Linked DNA regions of Homo sapiens: regions 1 and 3 are each linked to region 2. Evidence: promoter capture Hi-C in human tissues and cell types (Jung and others, 2019). All regions are on one chromosome and are shown on one strand. The core of a region is centred on a gene start or on the middle of the fragment in contact, and the rest is flanking DNA. Distances in the headings are between cores, read along the strand shown. Region 1 holds the start of POLR3K (RNA polymerase III subunit K). Region 2 overlaps AXIN1 (axin 1). Region 3 holds the start of WDR90 (WD repeat domain 90).

Region 1 (3,582 bases), core at 1,083-3,582, 290 kb before region 2:
GGATTAGCCCCAGAGAAGTCAAGAGACCCAAGGAAGGTCCTACAACAATACAAGGTTGCCCTGAGAATCTGACCCGGGCCTGTATGACTCCAAGGCTGGCACAAATATTGCTTGTCTGACAGATTATTAAACAGTAACAAATACAAATAAATTATTCAAGAACCATTTTCTATTTTTAGAAACCTACATCATTTATATGACATCATAGACTCTGCCAAGCAGTGGCATCAACAGCCTCATAATTATCCACAGTTTAGCAACAGAAACAGTTTTCCCTCTTACCTGCAGTAGAGTCAACATTCTCCCAGGCAGCTGCTCCACCAAGCACATCATCCACTTCTTTCAGTTTTGGGTACTTCCGATTTGTTACCTAACAAAAACAACACTTCAGACTCCAAGTAACTGAATAGCGCAAACCTGGGCTGCCAAACCTTAAATTTCAGGATTACATAAGAGTTCACTCGGCTGGGCGTGGTGGCTGACACCTGTAATCCCAGCACTTTGGGAGGCCAAGACGGGCGGATCACGAGGTCAAGAGATCGAGACCATCCTGGCTAACACGGTGAAACCCTGTCTCTACTAAAAATACAAAAAATTAGCCCGGCGTGTTGGCGGGCGCCTGTAGTCCCAGCTACTCAGGAGGCTGAGGCAGGAGAATGGTGTGAACCTGGGAGGCGGAGCTTGCAGTGAGCCGAGATCACACCACTGCACTCCAGCCTGGGCTACGGAGCAAGACTCCATCTCAAAAAAAAAAAAAAACAAAGAGTTCACTCTTCCCGTAGTTTCAAACTCCAAACTCCCACAACACAGTACAAACTGGAGTAGCATGCAAACATTAAGACTGACGTAGCACCAACATATTCTAACTGCTAAAAAGTAAAGGTATTCTGGCCAGGCGTGGTGGCTCACGCCTATAATCCCAGCACTTTGGGAGGCCAAGGCAAGCGGATCACCTGAGGTTGGGAGTTCGAGACCAGCCTGGCCAGCGCGGTGAAACCCCGTCTTTACTAAAAATACAAAAATTAGCCGGGGATGGTGGCAGGCGCCTGTAATTCCAGCTACTCGGGAAGCCGAGGCAGAAGAATTGCTTGAACCCGGGAGGCAGAGGTTGCAGTGAGCCGAGATTACGCCATTGCACTCCAGCCTGGGAAACAGAGCGAGACTCTGTCTCAAAAAAAAAAAAAAAAAAAAAAAAAAAAAAAAAAAAAAAAAGGTCGGGCGCGGTGGCTCACGCCTGTAATCCCAGCACTTTGGGAGGCCGAGGCGGGCAGATCACGAGGTCAGGAGACCGTCCTGGCTAACACACGGTGAAACCCCATCTCTACTAAAAATACAAAAAAATCAGCCAGGGGTGGTGGCGGACGCCTGTAGTCCCAGCTAATTGGGAGGCTGAGGCAGGAGAGTGGCGTGAACCCGGGAGGCAGAGCTTGCAGTGAGCCGAGATCGCGCCACTGCACTCCAGCCTGGGCGACAGAGCGGGACTCCGTCTCAAAAAAAAAAAAAAAAAAAAAAAAAAAAAACAATAAAAAAAAATAAAGAAAGCACACAATACATTACATAATATATTAGAAGGTAATAAGCCCTATGGAAACAATTACAAAGGGAAGGAGAATAAATTGGAAGGAGGGGCTGAAATTTAAAATACGGTAAAGACAAGACCAATGAGTAAGGTGGCGATCTAGGGGAAGAGTGAACTGAGCAACAGCAAGTGCAAAGGCCCTGCTAGCACCATGAGCACGATGAGAGATCGTCCAGGAGGCGGTGTTGATGCGGCAAAGGGCAACAGGAAGGGCATTAGGACTTGAAATCGGAGACGCACGCAGGGGAGGGAGTCAGTGTCGGAACCTGGTAGGCCCTGGGAGAACTCCGGCTTTTCGTCTGCGTGAGCTGGAGAAGAGCCGAAGGTTTCTGCGCACAGCACGGACCTGCGTGCCTCAGCTTTAAGGAAATCACCGTGGCCGCCGCTGTGAACGCAGAGAAGGGCGCGAGCGTGGGAGCAGGAACCCAAGGCGGTGGGAAACGGTGGGGCTTTCTGAGTGTATTGGAAAGTAGAGCCCACAGATCTGCTGCAGACCAGAAAGGGGCGCGAGAAAGAGCGGACAGAGGCAGACGCCGGGGCTGGCGGCGATGGAGCAGCAGTCGGAGGACGCGGAAGGCCTGCGAGAGTCGCCCGCGCCCAGCGCCGGCCTTCGGGTCCCACCTTGCGGGTGATGTTGTGCACGTAGGGGCACGTGTTGCAGGCGAAGCGGTGGCAGCGTTGTCCCTCCTCCACGATCAGCCCGTTCCCGCAGCCGGGGCAGAACAGCAGCATGGTCTCGAACTCCGCAGGCTCCAACTCCCGGCAGCTCCCACTGCCGCTCAGCGCCGATGCGCCGCCCGCCTCGAGCTCACATTGGTCCTGGCAGCCTTCCCGCCACACCAACCAACCAATAGACAGGGCGATTCTGCGCTCCCGGCCCTGCTGCAGGCTGTCTCGCACTTGTCATTGGTCACTGCAGCCGCCCCACCCCCCCCGGCGCGCCAGTGGCTGGGCGGCCTCGCTGGGGCGGGCCGCAGTTCCTGCGCGTGCGCGCTTGGCCTCCCTAGTGCGGGCTGGCAGTGCGGGCAGAGCCCGGCTGAGAGGGGCGGCCCTGGAGGAGACGGAGGCCGCGGGTGGGCCCGAGGCGCAAGAGGAAGATGAGGACGAAGAAGAGGCGCTGCCGCACTCCGAGGCCATGGACGTGTTCCAGGAGGGTCTGGCTATGGTGGTGCAGGACCCGCTGCTCTGCGATCTGCCGATCCAGGTGTGTGCGGGCGGGGGCTGGGGGCGCGGGAGTCGTTCCCCGGGGTCCGGGCATCCGGGCGCCGGCAGCCTCCGAAGGTGCTGGTGGGAGACTGCGGCCCAAGGCTGAGGAAGGCGCCTCTGGGCGTAAACGAGGGTTTTAACCTTGACCGGGCGCACTCGCCTGGGGCGCGAAGCTTAAAGAGGAACCAAAAACCTCATTAGTGAGTGACATCAAATGACATTTTAATGTAATTGTATTTAGGGGGCTCGGGGGACAGGGTCTTGCTGCGTTGCCCGGGCTGGAGTGCAGCGGCGTCCTCCCACCTCAGCCTCCCGAGTAATTGGGACCACAGGTGCGCGCTACCACACCCGGCTAATTTTTAAATATTTTGTACAGAGGGAGTCTCACTATGTTGCCCAGGCTGATCTGAAACTCCTGGGCTCAGGCGATCCTCCTGCCTCGGCCTCCCAAAATGCTGGGATTTAGGTGTGAGCCACCCGCCTGGCCTGTAATACCTTTAAAAGTCAAAGTTGAGGCAAAAAAAGAGCCTACGGTAAAAGAAAAATTTAGTTTTAAATAAGAGCAAGATTAGTAGTACTGATTGTTCCATTTGCCTCAAGCGTCAATCATGTGTCAAAGCGTCAGTATCATGCTTTGGGACGATACTGTCTTTTTATTTATTTATTTATTTATTTGAGACTGAGTCTTGGTCCGTTGCCAGGCTGGAGTGTAGTGGTGCCATCTCGACTCACTGCAACCTCCCCCTCCCGGGTTCACTACAGGCACGCGCCACCACGCCCGGCTAATTTTTTGTATT
Region 2 (3,891 bases), core at 112-2,611:
TAGCCTCCAGGACAGAGGGGTCAGCACCCGAGGGCTGGCCCTCCTGGCACGTTCCTCCACGCAAATTCCACCCCGGTGAGAGGTGACAGCGTGCTGGCAGTCCTCACAGCCCTCGCTCGCTCTCAGCGCCTCCTCTGCCTGGGCTCTCACTTTGGTGGCACTTGAGGAGCCCTTCAGCCCACCACTGCACTGTGGGAGCCCCTTTCTGGGCTGGCCAAGGCCGGAGCCGGCTCCCTCAGCTTGCGGGGAGGTGTGGAGGGAGAGGCGCGAGCGGGAACCGCGGCTGCATGCGCTTGCAGGCCAGCTGGAGTCCCGGGTGGGCGTGGGCTTGGTGGGCCCGGCACTCAGAGCAGCCGGCCAGCCCTGCCGGCCGCGGGCAATGAGGGGCTTAGCACCCGGGCCAGCGGCTGCGGAGGGTGTGCTGGGTCCCCCGGCAGTGCCGGCCCACCGGAGCTGCGCTCAATTTCTCGCTGGGTCTTAACTGCCTTCCTGCAGGGCAGGGCTCGGGAGCTGCAGCCCGCCATGCCTAAGCCCCCCACCCCCTCCGTGGGCTCCTGTGCGGACCGAGTCTCCCCGACGAGCGCCCGGTCCCATTGACCACCCAAGGGCTGAGGAGTGCGGGCGCACGGCACGGGACTGGCAGGCAGCTCCACCTGCAACCCCGGTGCGGGATCCACTGGGTGAAGCCAGCTGGGCTCCTGATTCTGGTGGGGACGTGGAGAACCTTTATGTCTAGCTCAGGGACTGTAAATACACCAATCGGCACTCTGTATCTAGCACAAGGTTTGTAAACACACCAATCAGCACTCTGTGTCTAGCTCAGGGTTTGTGAATGCACCAATCGACACTCTGTATCTAGCTACTCTGGTGGGGACTTGGAGAACCTTTGTGTGGACACTCTGTATCTAGCTAATCTGGTGAGGATGTGGAGAAGCTTTGTGTCTAGCTCAGGGATTGTAAACGCACCAATCAGCGCCCTGTCAAAACAGACCACTGGACTCTACCAATCAGCAGGATGTGGGTGGGGCCAGATAAGAGAATAAAAGCTGGCTGCGGGAGCCAGCAGTGGTAACTCGCTCGGGTCCCCTTCCATAGTGTGGAAGCTTTGTTCTTTCTCTCTTTCCAGTAAGTCTTGCTGCTGCTCACTCTTTGGGTCCACACTGCCTTTATGAGCTGTAACACTCACCGCGAAGATCTGCAGCTTCACTCCTGAAGCCAGTGAGACCACGAACCCACCAGAAGGAAGAAACTCCGAACACCTCCGAACGTCAGAAGGAACAAACTCCGGACAGGCCGCCTTTAGGAACTGTAACACTCACGGCAAGGGTCCGCGGCTTCATTCTTGAAGTCAGTGAGACCAAGAACCCACCAATTCCGGACACACCGGGACGACTAACCGGCTCTCCACAGGATATGCATCCCCTAACACGTGAGGCCTAAGCTCCAGGCCCTGCTGTGGTAGCAATGCTCACCAGCCGCCTGTTCAGTACCCACTCTCCTTTTCCCTTTGCATTACCCGCAGCCTTCCTTTGGAGGACTGCCCCCAGCTCCCCACTGGGGAGCAGCCGTCTGTCTGGGTGGAGAACCCACTTTCCTTCAGGAGTGACCCTGCTGCACAGCCCCCAGCGCACGCACCGTGACTGTGCTGAGACAGACGGGACACAGCGGCACACGTGCCCTCCTCAGAGCAACAGCGGGCCCATCCGTCAGAGCTGCGGGAAGCATCTGTAAACAAGGGAGCCCAGAGCCCAAGGTCACTGCAGCAGCCACCTCCAACACAAAGCCCACGAAGTCGCCCACCAGGCAGGCAAAGTCAGAATGGCACAAAGCAAAGGTGCCAGGCCCTAAGGCACACCTGAGGCTCTGCCTCAACAGTGCCCTTCAGGGTTGGGCTCAGGTGGGTGGGTTTCCACGACTTCCAACCTAGTGCACCCTCACCTACACCTGGCAGGACAAAGAGAATGGTCTAAATGTGAGGAACGCAGCCTGGACTTCATGCCCTGTCTGTGCTGACAAGCAACCATTCCAACATCAGAGATCTTCAAGCCACAAGGCTGCACCACAGGCCACCTCCCACAGAGAGGATTCAACCGCAGACACGACTCCCAAGCCCCAGGGTCCTCTGCCACCAGCAGCCCCAGAGCAGTCAAGTTAGGACCCAAACTGTGTAGACAGAGCTACACAAAATTAGACAGGAGAAGCCAATGTATCCCACTAATTTCATAGCAAAGGTTCCTTATTACAAATACAGCAAACCAAGGACAGACAGCAAAGCTACTGCTCGCAGCCAAGAACTGAAGAGTGGCTGGGAGGGAGGCACTGGGGTTCCAACAGTGGAAATCAGAACGGAGCTCATTTTCCTCCTGCAGCCCAGCCCTCAACTTCAGTCCCATCTTAAAAATAACCAGCCGGGGCCGGGCGCAGTGGCTCACACCTGGAATCCCAGCACTTTGGGAGGCTGAGGCGGGCAGATCTCTTGAGGAAAGGAGTTCGAGACCAGACTGGCCAACGTGGTAAAACCCCATCTCTACTAAAAATACAGAAAATTAGCTGGGCATGGTAGCTCACACTTGTAATCCCAGCTACTCGGGAGGCTGAGGCAGGAGACTCACTTGAACCCAGGAGGCAGAGGTTGCAGTGAGCTGAGATTGCACTACTGCACTCCAGCCTGGGCGACAGAGCGAGACTCCATCTCAAACAAAAAAACAAGCAAAAAAAATAACCAGCCAGGTGCAGTGGCTCCCACCCGTAATCCCAGCACTTTGGGAGGCTGAGATCACTGGAGTCCAGGAGCTCGAGACCATCCTGGCCAACGTGGCGAAACGCTGTCTCTACCACAAATACAAAAATTAGCCAGGCATGGTAGCACACACCTGTAATCCCAGCTACTCGGGAGGCAGGAGAATCACTTAAACCCAGGAGGCAGAAGTTGCAGTGAGCCGAGATAGCGAGATAGTGCTACTGCACTCCAGCCTGTGTGACAGAGCGAGACTCCATTTCAAAAAAAAAAAAAAGAAAGAAAGAAAGAAACTCTCAGTTTATACCAGGCTTACTCAACAGGATAACTTTGCGGCATATTGTGTCCTAAAATGCTTGCTAAATAAATACCACTTGGCTAAAGACAATGAACAAAAGGGAAAAAAGGCCGGGCGTGGTGGCCCACGTCTGTAATCCCCGCACTTTGGGAGACTGAGGCAGGCGATCACGAGGTCAGGAGATCGAGACCATCCTGGCTAACATGGTGAAACCCAGTCTCTACTAAAAATACAAAAAATTGGCCGGCATGGTGGCGGGCGCCTGTAGTCCCAGCTACTTGGGAGGCTGGGGCAGGAGAACGGCGTGAACCTGGGAGGCGGAGCTTGCAGTGAGCCGAGATGGCGCCACCGCACTCCAGCCTGGGCGATAGAGCAAGACTCCATCTCAAAAAAAAAAAAAAAATTAACCAATTAACCTACACAATCCTTTTTTGTTTTTTTTTTGTTTTTTTTCTGAGACAGAGTTTCACTCTTGTCCTCTTGTCGCCCAGGCTGGAGTGCAATGGCACAACCAAGGCTCACTGCAACCTCTGCCTCCCAGGTTCAAGCGATTCTCCTGCTTCAGCCTCCCGAGGAGCTGGGATTACAGGCATGCGCCAACTCGCCTATCTAATTTTTGTATTTTTAGTAGAAATGAGGATTCACCACGTTGGCCAGGATGGTCTCGAACTCCCGACCTCAGGTGATTCGCCCGCCTCGGCCTCCCAAAGTGCTGGGATTACAGGTGTGAGTCACTGCGCCCAGTCGACAGTCCATCTTAAATCGTATCACTTAGACTACAAGTTTAACCTTAGACATGTTTAATCCTGTGTTGATGAGCGAGTAGCCAATTTCTGTGTCACAGTAAGCTTGAAGA
Region 3 (4,051 bases), core at 914-3,413, 310 kb after region 2:
GCTGCAGGTGTGAGCTGAGCTGCCGATGGCTTGGGGACTGCAAGAGAGGCCTGGGCCACCGGCTGCTGTGGGTGGCTGCTCTCTCTGGTTCAGGAAGTGCCTAGGCTGGCCAAGTCTGGGGAAAGTGGGCTGGCCCGGGGCTGCTCCTGAGTTCTGCCAGGCAGCACCGCACCTGGGATGGGCACCAACCATGTCCGTCTCCTCCCTTCCTGCAGTCCAGGGCCAAGGCTTGTGTTCAATCGTGTGAATGGCCGGCGGGCCCCCTCCACGTCCCCATCCTTCGAGGGGACCCAGGAGACCTACACAGTGGCCCACGAGGAGAATGTCCGCTTTGTGTCCGAAGGTAGCGAGCGGGGCCAGAGGGTGCGGCATAGGCTGCTGGGTCGCAAAACCATGGACCCGGGATGGCCCCACTTCAAGCTGACCCACAGCCGCTGCATGGCTGTGCTTTTCCTTGGCACTCTGCCCTTGTGTCCTGTGACCAGCCCTGTGTGGGGCTGGAGTCCAGGGTGACCATCAGGCCCTGGGTGGGCGATGGGGTGCCTGGGACCTGGCTCAGCCCGACTGCCCTCCTCCCACAGCCTGGCAGCAGGTGCAACAGCAGCTGGATGGTGGCCCAGCCGGTGAGGGCGGGCCAAGGCCTGTGCAGTACGTGGAGAGGACCCCCAATCCCCGGCTGCAGAGTGAGCCCCCCAACCCTGTCCCCCCAGGAGAGACCCCCCAGCCCCTCTGATCCTGACCCAGGCCCTGCCAGGTTCCCACCCCAGGGGATGAGGGAGGGGACTCTTGTGCAGAAACCCCTTCTTCCCAGCGCCTGCCGCACTCGGAGTCCGGGTGAGCGGCTTGTGGTTAGCTCCAGGGGAGACTTGCCGGCTGGCCTGGGAGGCAGCATCACTGCCCAGCCTTCTCTGCCCACAGACTTTGTGCCCATTGACCTAGACGAGTGGTGGGCGCAGCAGTTCCTGGCGAGAATCACCAGCTGTTCCTAGTGGCTGCTGGGAGGGGGCGCTGCTACACGGCCGACCTGTCGCCAGGAGAGAAGCATGGCGCCCTGCCCACCCACTGCGCCTGGCTGGGTGCCGGCCACACCTGAAGTGCCAGCATTTGGACTTTTGCACCTTTTTTTCCCTTGGCCCGGCTGTCCCAACCAAGCTGCCATGGCCAAGGGCCGAACCCGTCTGACCTCAGCCCTGCTCACTGTGCCCAGGGACCAGCGACCAGCCCCTGGGGCTGGCAGGGAGGAGCTCCAGGCTAATAAAGTGGAGAAACTGTCTTTTTGGAGTGTCTTTGACTTGGGAGGGTGTAGGGGGGGTTCTCATGTCCAGTTCCAGTCCACAGCCTGGGACGCCAGGCCCAGCACAAACTCCCCTTGTAGCCCTGTTCCTTCAAGCCGTTAGCTTCTCACCCAGCTGCCCTGCGACAGGTAGGAGGGACGTTAGCCAGCCCACCTTGCTTGGAAGTCTGGGGACCCCACTTGGTTCCTCTTTCCTCTCCCGTTGGCGTTGACTGGGACCGAAGCCGAGACTCAAGGCCTAAAGACATTAAATGGCCCCGGAGTGCAGTCCACCACCCCCCACTACCGGCACTGGGGCTGTGTCTCAGAACGCCAGGTCCCATTCTGAATCCGCCGGGCCCGGCCGCAGGACACTGGGCGAAGGAGTACGTGGGGAACCTGATAGGACGAACGTGGGAACCAGCCCCTCCGCGGGCGCCCGCACTACCTTCCCTGATGGACGGGGATGACCCAGCCCACCTGAGTCAGGACCCAGGGTACCCAGGTGTGGAGCAGGGGCCTCTGGACGGCGAGAGAGCGGCAGGGTGAGGCCCGGCCGTCCGTGGCATGGCCAGGCCTCAGCGCGACCTCGCCTCGCTGCTTGCATGCGGCGGGAGCCCCGGCCGGCCGAGGCGCTGACAGGTGGGCGCGGCGGAGGATCCGCAACCGGCGCGGGCTTCGAAGCCGGTCGGGCTAACAGGGGGCTGCCTTGGGAGGCCCGCGGGGCAAAGGGCAGCGGGATTCGCGGCTGGAGCAACCCTGGAGGCCGCTGACGTGAGCGGGGTACTCCCACCGGGGAGGTCACGTGGCCAGGGCGCCGCCATGACGGCGGAAGTAATGGCGGAAGTGGCACCGTTGCCAGGCAGCCGTTGCCTGGCGTCGCGGGGCGTACTCTGCGCTGGGCGCGCGGAGGCCTAGGCGGGAAGCTCGAGCGGCGGCGCCATGGCCCGAGGTAGCGCGCGGCTGGCGGGGGTCCCGAGGATCCCGGGTTCCGGGGTTCCGGGGTCCAGGGTCGGCGGCCGGAGCGCTCAGGGCCCCCGCCTAGGCCCTGAGGCCAGAGTCCCCGCTCAGGCAGGGTCCCGTCTGCCGGGCGCCCACCCTCGGGCTCCCGGAGCTTGGCTTCCCTCGGGCGCCCGGCCTCGTCCCGCCAGCCTAGCTGGCGTTGGCGTCGCCGGGGAAGGCGCGGAGAGCCCCGGCTCCTGCCTGGTCCCCGAGGCCCGGCCCAGCCCCGCAGTGGCCCCGGCTCGCGTGGCCGAGTCCCCTGACGCCCGGCGCCCGCTCCCCGCAGCGTGGCAGCACCCGTTCCTCAACGTCTTCAGACACTTCCGGGTGGACGAGTGGAAGCGCTCCGCCAAGCAGGGGGACGTGGCCGTGGTCACGGTAGGCGGCCGGGGGCTCGCCCGGAGCCCACACCCCTGCCCTGCCCCCAGGAGAGCTGCCCCGCCCCCGAGGGCCCCCTCGCCCCCGCTGCACTTCTTCTGGGTGCTGTCGGTGATGCGGGCTCCCGCTTCTCCAGGACAAGACCCTGAAGGGCGCCGTGTATCGCATTCGGGGCTCAGTCTCTGCCGCCAACTACATCCAGCTCCCTAAGAGCAGCACCCAGTCTCTGGGGCTGACGGGACGATACCTGTATGTGCTCTTTCGGCCCCTGCCCAGCAAGCACTTCGTCATCCACCTCGATGTGTCCTCCAAGGTACGGAGCCCGCGGCTGGGGGCTGCGTGGGAGCCCCGGCACCCCTGCGGCCCCTGTCTCCTCACGGCCCTGCTCCGTCCCCACAGGACAACCAAGTCATCCGTGTGTCTTTCTCCAACCTCTTCAAGGAGTTTAAGTCTACGGCCACGTGGCTCCAGTTTCCCTTGGTCCTGGAGGCCAGGACACCTCAGAGAGGTGACACCAAGATGGGGTGTGGATGATCCAGGACAGGTGGCTGGAGGGAGTTGGTGCAGGCCCAGTGAGGCTCCTCTGCGGCCTGGAGGACAACCTGGCGGGGGCACAAGCTCACAGTTCTGGGAGTCGCGGGCTGTCAGGAGGGTGGGCGCTGACCCTGAGTGCCCATCCTGCAGATCTGGTGGGTTTGGCCCCCTCCGGAGCCCGCTGGACCTGCCTGCAGCTCGATCTGCAGGACGTTCTCCTGGTCTACCTGAACCGGTGCTACGGCCATCTCAAGAGCATCAGGCTGTGCGCCAGCCTGCTGGTCAGGAACCTGTACACCAGTGACCTGTGCTTTGAGCCTGGTGAGGGCCGCACCTGCACTCCCCACTCCATATCTCACCCATGCTCTCAGCCCTGGAGAGGCCCAAGTCCAGGGTGCTTGGGAAAATACAGTGCTCGAGCTGTGCTGTCTCTGAGCTCTGGCCAGAACCCATCCCAGAGGCAGCCCTGGGGTCAGAACCCATCCCAGAGGCAGCCCTGGGGTGGGGCGGTGGCTGGGCTGGTGGCGTGGCAGTGCCTTGGCGGGTGCCCTGTGTTCAGGTGGCTAAACAGCCTCCCTTGACCTGGAACAACCCTGCTCCTTGTAGCCATCTCTGGGGCCCAGTGGGCAAAGCTGCCCGTGACTCCTATGCCTCGGGAAATGGCATTCCCTGTGCCCAAGGGAGAGAGCTGGCATGACCGCTACATCCACGTCCGGTGAGTGGTTCTGCTTCTTTCGAGGGAGGCCTCGGTGGTGGGAGGGTGGGTGGCCCTTGGGCCCCCAGACACTGACTCTCCCTCTGCCTGCCAAGGTTTCCAAGTGAGAGCTTGAAAGTGCCTTCCAAGCCGATTGAGAAGAGCTGTTC

The links. The method cuts DNA at HindIII sites, captures the fragments that hold promoters and counts their contacts. A contact is called where the count stands out against the background at its distance.
Region 1: a contact is called between the fragment with the promoter of POLR3K here and a fragment that was not itself captured in region 2, in 1 of the 25 tissues and cell types used here (lymphoblastoid cells).
Region 3: a contact is called between the fragment with the promoter of WDR90 here and a fragment that was not itself captured in region 2, in 1 of the 25 tissues and cell types used here (dorsolateral prefrontal cortex).

What each region holds. Positions count from the first base shown.
Region 1 is chr16:51,276-54,857 of GRCh38, forward strand. It overlaps POLR3K (RNA polymerase III subunit K), which reads right to left and starts at 2,333. Exons shown (of 3, transcript NM_016310.5): 1 at 2,201-2,333; 2 at 283-370. The coding sequence starts at 2,311. SNRNP25 (small nuclear ribonucleoprotein U11/U12 subunit 25) reads left to right here and starts at 2,553. Exons shown (of 5, transcript NM_024571.4): 1 at 2,553-2,783. The coding sequence starts at 2,742. RefSeq lists enhancers at 1,599-2,125, 1,854-2,013 and silencers at 2,344-2,663, 2,804-2,903. The HindIII fragment of the contact is 23,499 bases long and covers 1-3,582 here.
Region 2 is chr16:341,008-344,898 of GRCh38, forward strand. The region is part of intron 2 of AXIN1 (axin 1); the gene reads right to left. Among named protein-coding and RNA genes, the nearest start is that of AXIN1, 9.8 kb to the right of the region's middle. RefSeq lists an enhancer at 458-1,009. The HindIII fragment of the contact is 5,555 bases long and covers 1-3,891 here.
Region 3 is chr16:647,202-651,252 of GRCh38, forward strand. It overlaps WDR90 (WD repeat domain 90), which reads left to right and starts at 2,164. Exons shown (of 41, transcript NM_145294.5): 1 at 2,164-2,225; 2 at 2,562-2,653; 3 at 2,790-2,966; 4 at 3,053-3,161; 5 at 3,338-3,508; 6 at 3,794-3,902; 7 at 3,998-4,051. The coding sequence starts at 2,216. It overlaps MCRIP2 (MAPK regulated corepressor interacting protein 2), which reads left to right. Exons shown (of 5, transcript NM_138418.4): 3 at 216-343; 4 at 582-683; 5 at 919-1,273. The coding sequence ends at 989. LOC105371038 (a long non-coding RNA gene) reads right to left here and starts at 2,112. Exons shown (of 2, transcript NR_135177.1): 1 at 1,754-2,112; 2 at 1,257-1,414. RefSeq lists enhancers at 729-778, 2,201-3,023 and silencers at 2,199-2,298, 2,409-2,538. The HindIII fragment of the contact is 7,525 bases long and covers 1-4,051 here.